Linked DNA regions of Homo sapiens: regions 2 and 3 are each linked to region 1. The links are contacts of gene promoters, found by promoter capture Hi-C in blood cells and fetal thymus (Javierre and others, 2016). All regions are on one chromosome and are shown on one strand. The core of a region is centred on a gene start or on the middle of the fragment in contact, and the rest is flanking DNA. Distances in the headings are between cores, read along the strand shown. Region 1 holds the start of PCDHA5 (protocadherin alpha 5). Region 2 has its middle 6.1 kb from the start of PCDHB2. Region 3 has its middle 4.6 kb from the start of PCDHB4.

The links. The method cuts DNA at HindIII sites, captures the fragments that hold promoters and counts their contacts. A CHiCAGO score of 5 or more calls a contact.
Region 2: a contact is called between a fragment that was not itself captured here and the fragment with the promoter of PCDHA5 in region 1, in 1 of 17 cell types (M2 macrophages). The highest score is 5.2, in M2 macrophages.
Region 3: a contact is called between a fragment that was not itself captured here and the fragment with the promoter of PCDHA5 in region 1, in 1 of 17 cell types (erythroblasts). The highest score is 5.5, in erythroblasts.

The regions. Positions count from the first base shown.
Region 1 is chr5:140,820,114-140,823,596 of GRCh38, reverse strand. PCDHA5 (protocadherin alpha 5) reads right to left here and starts at 1,984. Exons shown (of 4, transcript NM_018908.3): 1 at 1-1,984. The coding sequence starts at 1,821. All of the region lies in intron 1 of PCDHA1 (protocadherin alpha 1), which reads right to left. The region is part of intron 1 of PCDHA2 (protocadherin alpha 2); the gene reads right to left. All of the region lies in intron 1 of PCDHA3 (protocadherin alpha 3), which reads right to left. It also overlaps PCDHA4 and PCDHA@. The HindIII fragment of the contact is 13,774 bases long and covers 1-3,483 here.
Region 2 is chr5:141,086,817-141,090,192 of GRCh38, reverse strand. It overlaps PCDHB@. Among named protein-coding and RNA genes, the nearest start is that of PCDHB2, 6.1 kb to the left of the region's middle. The HindIII fragment of the contact is 4,657 bases long and covers 1-3,376 here.
Region 3 is chr5:141,115,664-141,118,819 of GRCh38, reverse strand. It overlaps PCDHB@. Among named protein-coding and RNA genes, the nearest start is that of PCDHB4, 4.6 kb to the left of the region's middle. The HindIII fragment of the contact is 2,415 bases long and covers 175-2,589 here.

The DNA.
Region 1 (3,483 bases), core at 735-3,234:
CGAAAGCCAAGCGTTGTAGCCCGAATCAGGGTCCACTGCGCGCACCTTCGCCACCACGTGGCCCGCACCCACTGACCTCGGCACCAGCTCGCTCACTGCGCCGCCGGTGCCACCCACTCGAGGCACCAGCAGCGCCGGCGCGTTGTCGTTCTCGTCCAGCACGAACACCTGCAGCGTCACGTTGCTGCCCAGAGGCGGCACGCCCGCGTCGCGCGCGCTCACCTGGAACTGCAGCAGCTCCACTTCCTCGTGGTCCAGCGGCTGCAGCGCGTACACCTTGCCGCTCTCCGCGTGCACCGAAACGTAACTCGACAGCGGGCGCTCGCCCACCCGCCGCTCCACCAGCGAGTAGGACACCAGGGCGTTCTCCTGCGCGTCCGCGTCCCGTGCAGACACCGTGAAGATGTGGCAGCCTGGCGGGTTGTTCTCCTTCACGAACACGGTATACTGGGGCTGCGCGAACGCCGGAGCGTTGTCGTTCACGTCGGCCACTTCCACAGACACGCTGGCGGTGGCCCACAGCGAAGGCGAGCCCCCGTCCCGCGCGGTCACCACCAGCTCATAGACCGACACGCTCTCGCGGTCCAGGGCGCTGTCCAGCACCAACGAGTAGTAATTCTTGAAGGTGGACACCAGCTTGAAGGGAACGTGGGGCATTAGGGAGCAGGTCACCTGCCCGTTGGCACCTGAGTCACGGTCAGACACGCTGATCAGAGCAATGACCGTGCTGAGTGGAGCGTCCTCTTTGACAGGCAGGAAAAGGGTGGTTATGGCCATCTCTGGGGTATTATCATTCACATCCAGGAGTTTCACTACTACTTTACAGTGTCCTGATAATGGGAATGTACTTTTATCCATGGCATCAATATTAATTTCATATGAGTTATAGTCTTCATAATCCAGTTCCCCGTTAACTTTTATTTCACCAGTATTAGAATTAATTATAAATTTGGACTTTACATCGTCAAGAACAAGATTACTAAAGAAATACACTATTTCCTTATTGATGCCCTCATCTGCATCTGAGGCGTTCAGTTTAATAACTAATGTCCCACTTGGTGCATTTTCCAACAATCTGACATTATAAATGGATTTATCAAATTCTGGGGCGTTATCATTAGCATCCAATACATTGATCAACAACTGAACTGTACCTGTTAGTTCGGGTTTTCCTCCATCAGTTGCAATCACTAATAAACGGTGTTCTTGTGTTTCTTCTCTATCTAAGGATTTCCTCAAAACCAGCTCTAAAAAGTTCGTTTCTTCTTCATTTGTTTTAACATCTAAGTCAAAATATTCGTTTGGATTTAACCTGTATCTCAATTGTGCATTTGCTCCAATATCCAAATCCGACGCGCCCTCTAGCGGAAACCGCGAATCTGGCATTCTTGACTCTAAAATGAATAATCTTTGTTCTTGTCTGGAGAACCTGGGCGGATTGTCATTGATGTCCTTCACTGCCACCTCCACATGGAAAACCTGCAGCGGCCTGTCCACGATCACCTCCAGGTGGATGCTGCACTCCGCCCTCCGCCGGCACAGCTCCTCCCGGTCGATCCGAGAATTCACAAACAAAATGCCATTCTGCAGATTTACCTCCAGAAGGTCCCCGCGGCCCTTGGACGCCACCCGGAACAGGCGCGGCACCAGCTCCGCCAGCTCCAGCCCTAGGTCCTGCGCGATGCGGCCAACGAAGGTTCCGTGTTTGGCTTCCTCCGGGATCGAGTAGTGGAGCTGGCCGCTCCCTGCCTTCCAGTAGGCAAGGAGAAGCCAGAGCAGCAGGAGCCGGGATCCCAGACTTCCTCTCCGGGAATATACCATCTCAATCTCGTTCCAATTATGAGCTTTCTATTGCATCACCACACAATGTATTTTGTAAATTCAATTCCCAATTAACTATATATTTTTTATATTATCGCCTTTCTGAGCTTCTTGGCACAGCCAAAAATGGAAGGTTCTTTTCCTTTCTGTCTAAGGAAAATCTACTCACTGTATTCCTTTGAGGCTGGGAAGGGAGAAAAACCTTCCGGTGTCCAGCGACATCATGTGGATGAAAGGGTAAGTGTTTTATTTTGTTTTGCTTTATTTAGCTTATATTCGTCAATATTTCTCAAGTATTCTCACTTTCAATGACATGATTCTTATTCTTTAAATCACTTATCTCTAGTCAAAATATATCATTAAACTCTATCTTAAAATGCGTCAATATAAGTGCGTCATTAAAATATTACAGAAAAATACATCTAAAGTCATGAAACCCCAATCCTTACTAGAGAAATTTGTGCTGGTGTATTTTATATAGGGAGGAGTTTATATATTTCCAAACTGATAAAAATAACTTTTAAGAGTTAAAGTTTTGACTTTTCTCATCTCTATTTAAACATATCTAATTAAAACTTTTGAGTTTTTTCTGTATTAGTCAATGGAATGTTTGTATGCTATCTCCGTGTTACTCATAAAACAAATTTTTATTCCAATTTCACTGTTTAATAGTGACATTTTGTTGATGTTATTTTCAAAAACAACTAAAACTATTTTAATGGCATTCTTACCTGAGTTTCTTCTCGGAGTTCTAATTTTCAAATCGATGAAAACCTATTTCTTTATCTATAACACCTATCTACTTTTTGTATTGACTCAAAAACTGTAATGGGGATATTTCAGCTTTCTAGAAATCAAAAGCATAATAGAACGACTTTGGTAAATCGTCTTTGCACTATTTTCAAATTAGAAGCATCTAGATAGCATTTCTTCAAGTTGCTATTACTGATAAAGCAATTATTAAAAATTGTAAAATACATACCTTTGTACTTACATAACAAGTCAAAATCCTAATATTGTCTATATGACATACTATTTCACAAAATGTTTAGGTTCCAGTAAATATAATCATGTTGAAAAGAATATCATTTTATTAACCAGGCTATCTTTATATTAGTTTAATTACTTTTTAATCTCCCAACTGTTTACTGGATGGTATGATTTGAACACGACCTAGAAAATTTAGTAAACTTCACTTAATAAATATGGGCAAAAGAAAATATCACCAAGTTTTCTATTGAAGAAATAGCTAACATTCTGCTTGTATATATACTCCATAAAATTCCTTAAATATTACAAAATATCCCTTACCTGTGAAGACAAGAGGGACCAAGAGATTAGCAATTCTATTGTTGGATACTTTTACATTTAAAATATAGCTTGATAAGAAAAAAGAAATTACCAGAAAATGCAAAGTCAGAGGAAATTCACTTGATTTCTGGAATTCAAACTTGTAAAGAAACAAGATATTGTCATAGAATTGTTTCTGATACAATCTTTAAAGATATATTTACCAGTTCCCTTATAAGATTTTTACTATCTCTATTATCATGACTTTTCACTAATATTTGGATCGTTGAAACACAAATCAATTTCCCAGACTATTTGCCTAATAGTTTTCATACTGATAATTTTGAAATATTTTAATACACAATGGTTAAA
Region 2 (3,376 bases), core at 215-2,714, 270 kb before region 1:
GTACAAATAAGCAAGAAAAGGTTTTTAAAATGATACCTGCACAAGAATCTTGCCCAATTTTGTTTAAGGAGAACCATCAGAGTCTATTAGGACAATCTGTCCCCTTGAAAATAAAAATCTTGACCAGGACTGCAGATAAAGCTAGATAGACAGATATAGATGGAAATAGAGATGAGAGAGACAGAGGTATGACCTCTTCCAAAAATCTCAGACTTTTTTTTATGATTAAAATAGGTTAAAACTTAAATCAGGTTTAGGTAATCTGGTAGATGATTGAATTTTCACTAAGATCACTATTGAAATTTTACTTTAAAAGAAAATATGGACTGGGTGCTGTGGCTTATGCCTGTAATCCCAGCACTTTGGGAGGCCAAGGCAGGTGGATCACGAGGTCAGGAGATCGAGACCATCCTAGCTAACACGGTGAAACCCTGTCTCTACTAAAAATACAAAAAATTAGCTGGGCATGGTGGCAGGCGCCTGGAGTCCCAGCTACTCGGGAGGCTGAGGCAGGAGAATGGCGTGAACCCGGGAGGCAGAGCTTGCAGTGAGCTGAGATGGCGCCACTGCACTCCAGCCTGGGCAACAGAGCGAGACTCCATCTCAAAAAAAAAAAAAAAGAAAAGAAAATAATATGGCTAAATACAATATCGAAAATTAGTAAATAATGAAGAAATCCAAAGGTGTAGAGAGGGCAAAGAATACGGGGTGAGGGGAAGAAACCTGAAACTCTGACTACAAAATACAAAGCATAAATAATCAATTTAGATATGCTAAAGAAATATAAGGAAATACTTGAAAATTATAACATATTTTCATATCACAGTAATTATTTGAACATCTACTGTGTAAAGAAGCAGGCCAACAAGAAAACAAAGGAATACTAAAACCATAGTATATGCTAAGTGAGGAATCTAAGTGACAGACCCCATATTCCTGAGGTCTGTCAAGATGTAGCCAGTAGAGCTGAAAGAAACAGCTGACCAGCAGCAGTTGTTGTCTGAATCTGGAATACATAGGTGGCATCTCAGTGTCCTTGACCATAACCTGAAGTCTATGATTGGCTAGATTACCATCACTCACAAACCTAGTGTGCACACTTCCCAGTGTTGGGCTAACACGCTATACAGATGGAGACTCAAGTCTTTGAGTAACTGATAGGACATGAAGACCTTCCAGACCTAGTCTCCTTCTACTGCCACCACCTTGAACATCACATAATCCGTTCTGCATTAAATATAACACAAAGGAGAATTGCCATTGCCATCAAATATTACCAACCACACCAACACCATGCTGCTAGCTCATGGTAGTAGTAGTGTCTGTTTCTCTCATACAGAACTTGACTCTTATGGGCCTTACAAACAGATTCTTTGTGTCCACTGTCATGGAGTACTGCACATCCTGGGAAACCAGAAGCAAATAAGTTACTTGGGTGTTTTTCTAAGTCTCTGTTTATGGCAGTGTGCTGCTAAAATGCACACTCTAGGGCTGTGTTTTCATACTTGATAAGTGCAGAGGCAGTTTGGTGAAAATGAAGACCTGGTTATATTGTTTCCTTTCAGCTTACAGTAACTCCAGATCTCTGGCAGTAATCATAGAATTGTACTTGTCTTTAATCTACCTCTATTGAAGGCTTTAGGGTGAAGGGAAGGTGGTATTATGAAGCCCAAATATCTATTTTTTTTTCTGTGATCTGGATCTGAAACACAGGAAACAGCAGATATGGTCTTAAAGCAGATATGGCTCCTTGGGACCTAGTTCATAAATGATGACATGATGATTAGGAGTGGACTGTCTTTTACAGCAAGAAGTTACATTTTCTAGAGTCTTTAATTATTGATGATCTCAGAATCCACACTGTAGATTAGTATAGCCTTGGAATTTACGGGTTTGAGTGATGGGTTTGCTTTTGGTACTTTTATACCAATGTAAATGCTTTATTAAAGTTTTCATTAAGTCTTCAGTAGCCCGGTAAAACCTTAAAGATAGTTTTATATTATACCTTGTATCCAAATTCCTGATAGAAAAGTGATAGCCAGGGAGGAAAAACTTTTTTTCTGGGATTACTGTACTGAACTACTATATATTACAGCTGAGTAAAATCACTGATAACCCACAACTTTGGTGAAGACCAATGCAGATTTGGATCTATGTGGGGACCCACCATCCAATATCATGATAGTTAAATTAACCTCAACCCATTTCTTTCCACTGAGAAAATTGCCCATCCTCATTCAGGATATTTTCTGCCACCATTCTCTAAGCAAACAGAAGAGAAGACATGGGAATTAGGATTCAAAATATACTTATGAATACTGCTCTGTCTACATGTTCTGCCATCTATATGGTCTCTACAAGATGCTCTCCTTGATTTTTTGCAGCATTCCTAGATCCAGTAATACACACTAGTGAATGGCTATATCTGTGAGTCCAAGGCACCTTGTAAAAATGTAACTCATTTTTCCAAGTTACCTTTCTCAAGGCAAATGAGTAACTCAAATGAGTTACATTTTTCCAAGGTGCTTTGAGACTCACAGATGGATCCAATTTCTATTTAGTACCCACTCCTGAGTCTTTTGATTTGAAAATGCAGTTTTTTAAATCTATAGAAACATGAATTACCCTCTCGCTCCCCATACCTCTCAAGTTCCCCATCCTAAGGCCCAAAATCTCTGCAAAATTAGCAATGAAGGAACCACTCTCCAGCACCTCTGGAACAGAATTCTGCAGTTCAGTATCCTGAATGGTACATGCTTAGTAAAACAGAATCACACTTTGTTTTAGACTGGGCTTTAAGTATTACATTATTCCTTCTTCTAACACCTTCCAGCAAATATGGTCCTACACAAACTCTGATCACCCTAATGTTTCTATTACTTATGCCACCAGAATCTTAGACATCCAATACAACTTTCACAGACAGGGTAATATAATATGAAACATACAGCACTGTATTTGCAATCTGCTTTAACCACCATTTGAGCCTGCAGTGCCATTATAGGACCGCCCCCCACCCCCCGTCAGTGCATTAAACTCTCTAGAAAGAAAAAAAGTATTTGAGAAAGGCAAATGAAAACACCAAACACTTTGTATTTATGTAATTATTATCCAGTGTATTGAATAATGTCTGTTTTCATTTTATCAGCAACTATCATAAATATATTAAATATCAACAAATAGGTCTTATTTGAGGCATATTCTGTTGTATCTTCTTTAATTTTCCTAAGCCATACAGGAGAGTATTAAACACTGACATAAAGAAAAAAAAGATAAGATTGTTTTGTCGGTCTGTTTTACATGACATTTAATGTACTGGATATGCTATGATATTAATTGCCAAAGAATTAATCATTTTTGATGTTTAATAAGGAAA
Region 3 (3,156 bases), core at 133-2,632, 300 kb before region 1:
GTAGTCCCAGCTACTTGGGAGGCTGAGGTGGGAGGATTGCTTGAGCCTGGGAGATTGAGGCTTCAGTGAGCCATGACTGTGCCACTGCACTCCAGCCTGGGTGACAGAGTGAGACTCTTTCTCAAAAAAATAAAACCAAAAACTACTAAAATAAATAAATGAGTTCAGCAAGCTTGCAGAATACAAGATCACTATACAGAAATCAATTGTATTTCTATACAGTAGCATTGAACAAATCAAAAATGAAATCAAGAAAGCAATGGAATTTATAATAGATATCATCAAAAGGAATAAAATGCTTAGGAATAAATTTAACAAAAGAAGTGGGAGAACTGAACACTGAGCACTACAAAACATCATTGAAAGAAATTAAAGAAGATCTAAGTAAATGAAAAGTGTTCATGGATTGGAAGACTTAAGATTGTTAAAATATTGGTATGCTCCAAATTGCTCTACAGATTTAGTGCAATCCCTATCAAAATTTCAGTTGGCTTTTTTGCAGAAATTGGTAAAGTGACCGTAAAATTCACATGAAAATGCGAGGTACCCAGAATACAATCTTGGGAAAAGAGGAACAAAGTTGAAAAGCCCACACTTTCTGATTGTAAAGATATATTCTAAGTTATATATCACATATTTGAGTATTTTGATATATTAAACTTATAAATGCTATTTTTATTCTAGAAAAAATTATTAGAAATTATCTTAGATTCCATCACAAATTTCTCAAGTCAAACTCTAATTATTCAAGTATCCCCTTCCTACATGTACATTTCAGTGAGTGTGACTTTAAAAATATCTTATAGGTTTAAGTTTGGAAAGTTAGCTAATGTAAAATTTACTTTGCTTTCACCACTGAGCACTATTGTTTGCTTTACAGCTATTTCATTCAAATGGTCAGCTGATGTATCTATTGTACCCATTTAATAGAACATTCCAGGAGATCATTCCTTTTATAAGAATTTCTAATAAATTCCACAAACCATTGATAGTAACCATTTATTATTGAGAGCTTAACATTTTGAAATAGTGCTATTGGAAATATGATTTAAAGAAATAATAGTCAAATTTATCTCTTTCTCTCAAAAATTAATGTTTAATTTTCCTCTATTCTCCCCTTTCAAAGTAAGAACAAAACCATCCTCAAGTCATGGTGAAGTTTTAAAAATACTCTTTCATTTTTAAAATAGACTATTCAAAATAGTATGAATTTAACATTTTTAACTTTAGGACTAGGTATATTCAAATCCCTTTTTTTTTTTTTTTTTGAGACGGAGTCTCGCTCTGTGGACCAGGCGGGAGTGCAGTGGCGCAATCTCGGCTCACTGCAAGCTCCGCCTCCCGGGTTCACGCCATTCTCCTGCCTCAGCCTCCCGAGTAGCTGGGACTACAGGCGCCCACCATCACGCCCGGCTATTTTTTTTGTATTTTTAGTAGAGACGGGGTTTCACCGTGTTAGCCAGGATGGTCTCGATCTCCTGACCTCGTGATCTGCCCACCTCGGCCTCCCAAAGTGCTGGGATTACAAGCGTGAGCCACCGCGCCCGGCCTCAAATCCCTTTTTAAATCTTTTTTTCTTGAGACAAGGTCACACAGGCCCCTGGAGTGCAGTGACACCATCATAGCTCACTGCAGCCTCGAGCTCCTGGGCTCAAGCAATCTTCATGCCTTGGCCTCCTGAGTAGCTGGGATTACAGGTGCAAGCCACCATATTCAGCTAATTAAAAAAAATTTGTAGAGATGGGGTCTTGTTATGTTGATCATCCTGGTCTTGAACTCCTGGCCTCAAGCATTCCTTCCACCTTGGCCTTCCAAAATGCTGGGATTACAGATATGAACAACTGCAACTGGCTCATTGTTTGATTTTAACATGCTGAACCAACCTTGCATTCCTGAGATAAATCCTACTTGGCCATGGTATGTAATCATTTTTATGTGATACTAGAGTCAGTTTGCTAAAATTTTGTTGAGAATGTTTGCATCTATATCCATAAGAGAAATTGGTATGTATTTTTCCCTTGTGTTATCACTGTCTGGTTTTGTCATCATGTTAATACTGGCCTCTATAGAATAGAGTTGAAAAGTGGTCCCTGCTCCTCTATTTTTTGAATGAGTATATTAAGTACTGGTGTTAATTCTTCTTTAAACATTTGGTAGAATTGACCAGTGAAGCCATCTGGTTCTGGGCTTTTCTTTGTGGAAAGTTTTTGATTACTGGTTCGATCTCTTATTACAGGTCTATTCAGGTTTTTTGTTAGGTTGGTGTAAAAGTAATTGTGTTTTTTGCCATTGAAAGTGATGGCAAAACCACAACTACTCTTGCACCAACCTAGTATTTCTCCTTAGTCAGTTTTGGCAATTACAGGTCTATTCACATTTTCTATTTCTCCTTAGTCAATTTTGGTAGTTTGTGTTTTCCATTTAATCTAGGGTTTTTTTTTTCCATTTCATCTAGGTTTTCTAATTTGTTGGCTTAAAATTGTTTATAGTATTCCCTTAAGACCTGTGAAATAGGTCATACTTTTTCCTCCTTTTTTTTAATTTTAGTAATTTGAGTCCTCTTTTTTCATCATCAGCCTAGCTAAAGCTTTGCCAATTTTATTGATCTTTTCAAAGCACCAACTTTTAGTTTATTTTCTCCATTGTTTTTCTATTCTATTTATTTCCACTCTAATAATTTCCTTTCTTCAGCTTGTATTGGTTTTAGTATGCTCTCCTTTTTCTAGCTTCTTAAGGTGGAAGTCTGGGTTACTGATTTGAGATCTTCTTAAAATATATAAGTATTTCAGCTATTATTTTCCCTCTAAGCACAACTTTTATTGTATCCCATAAGTTTTGGTATGTTGCATTTTCATTTTTATTCATTTCAGAGTATTTTTTAATGTCCTTTGTGATTTCTTCTTTGATTCATTGTTTTTTTAAATGTTTAATTTCCACATATTTGTGAATTTCCCAAATTTTCTTCTGCCACTGCTTTCTAATTTCATTTCATTGTAGCTGGAAAACATACTTTATATGATTTTAACTCTTTCAAATTCATTAAGACTTGTTTTATGGCCTAAAATATAGTCTATCCTGGAGAATGTTTCATATGCACTTGAAAATAATGTGTATTCTGCTGTTGTTAGATGGAGTGTTCTGTTAAGTACTGTTGGT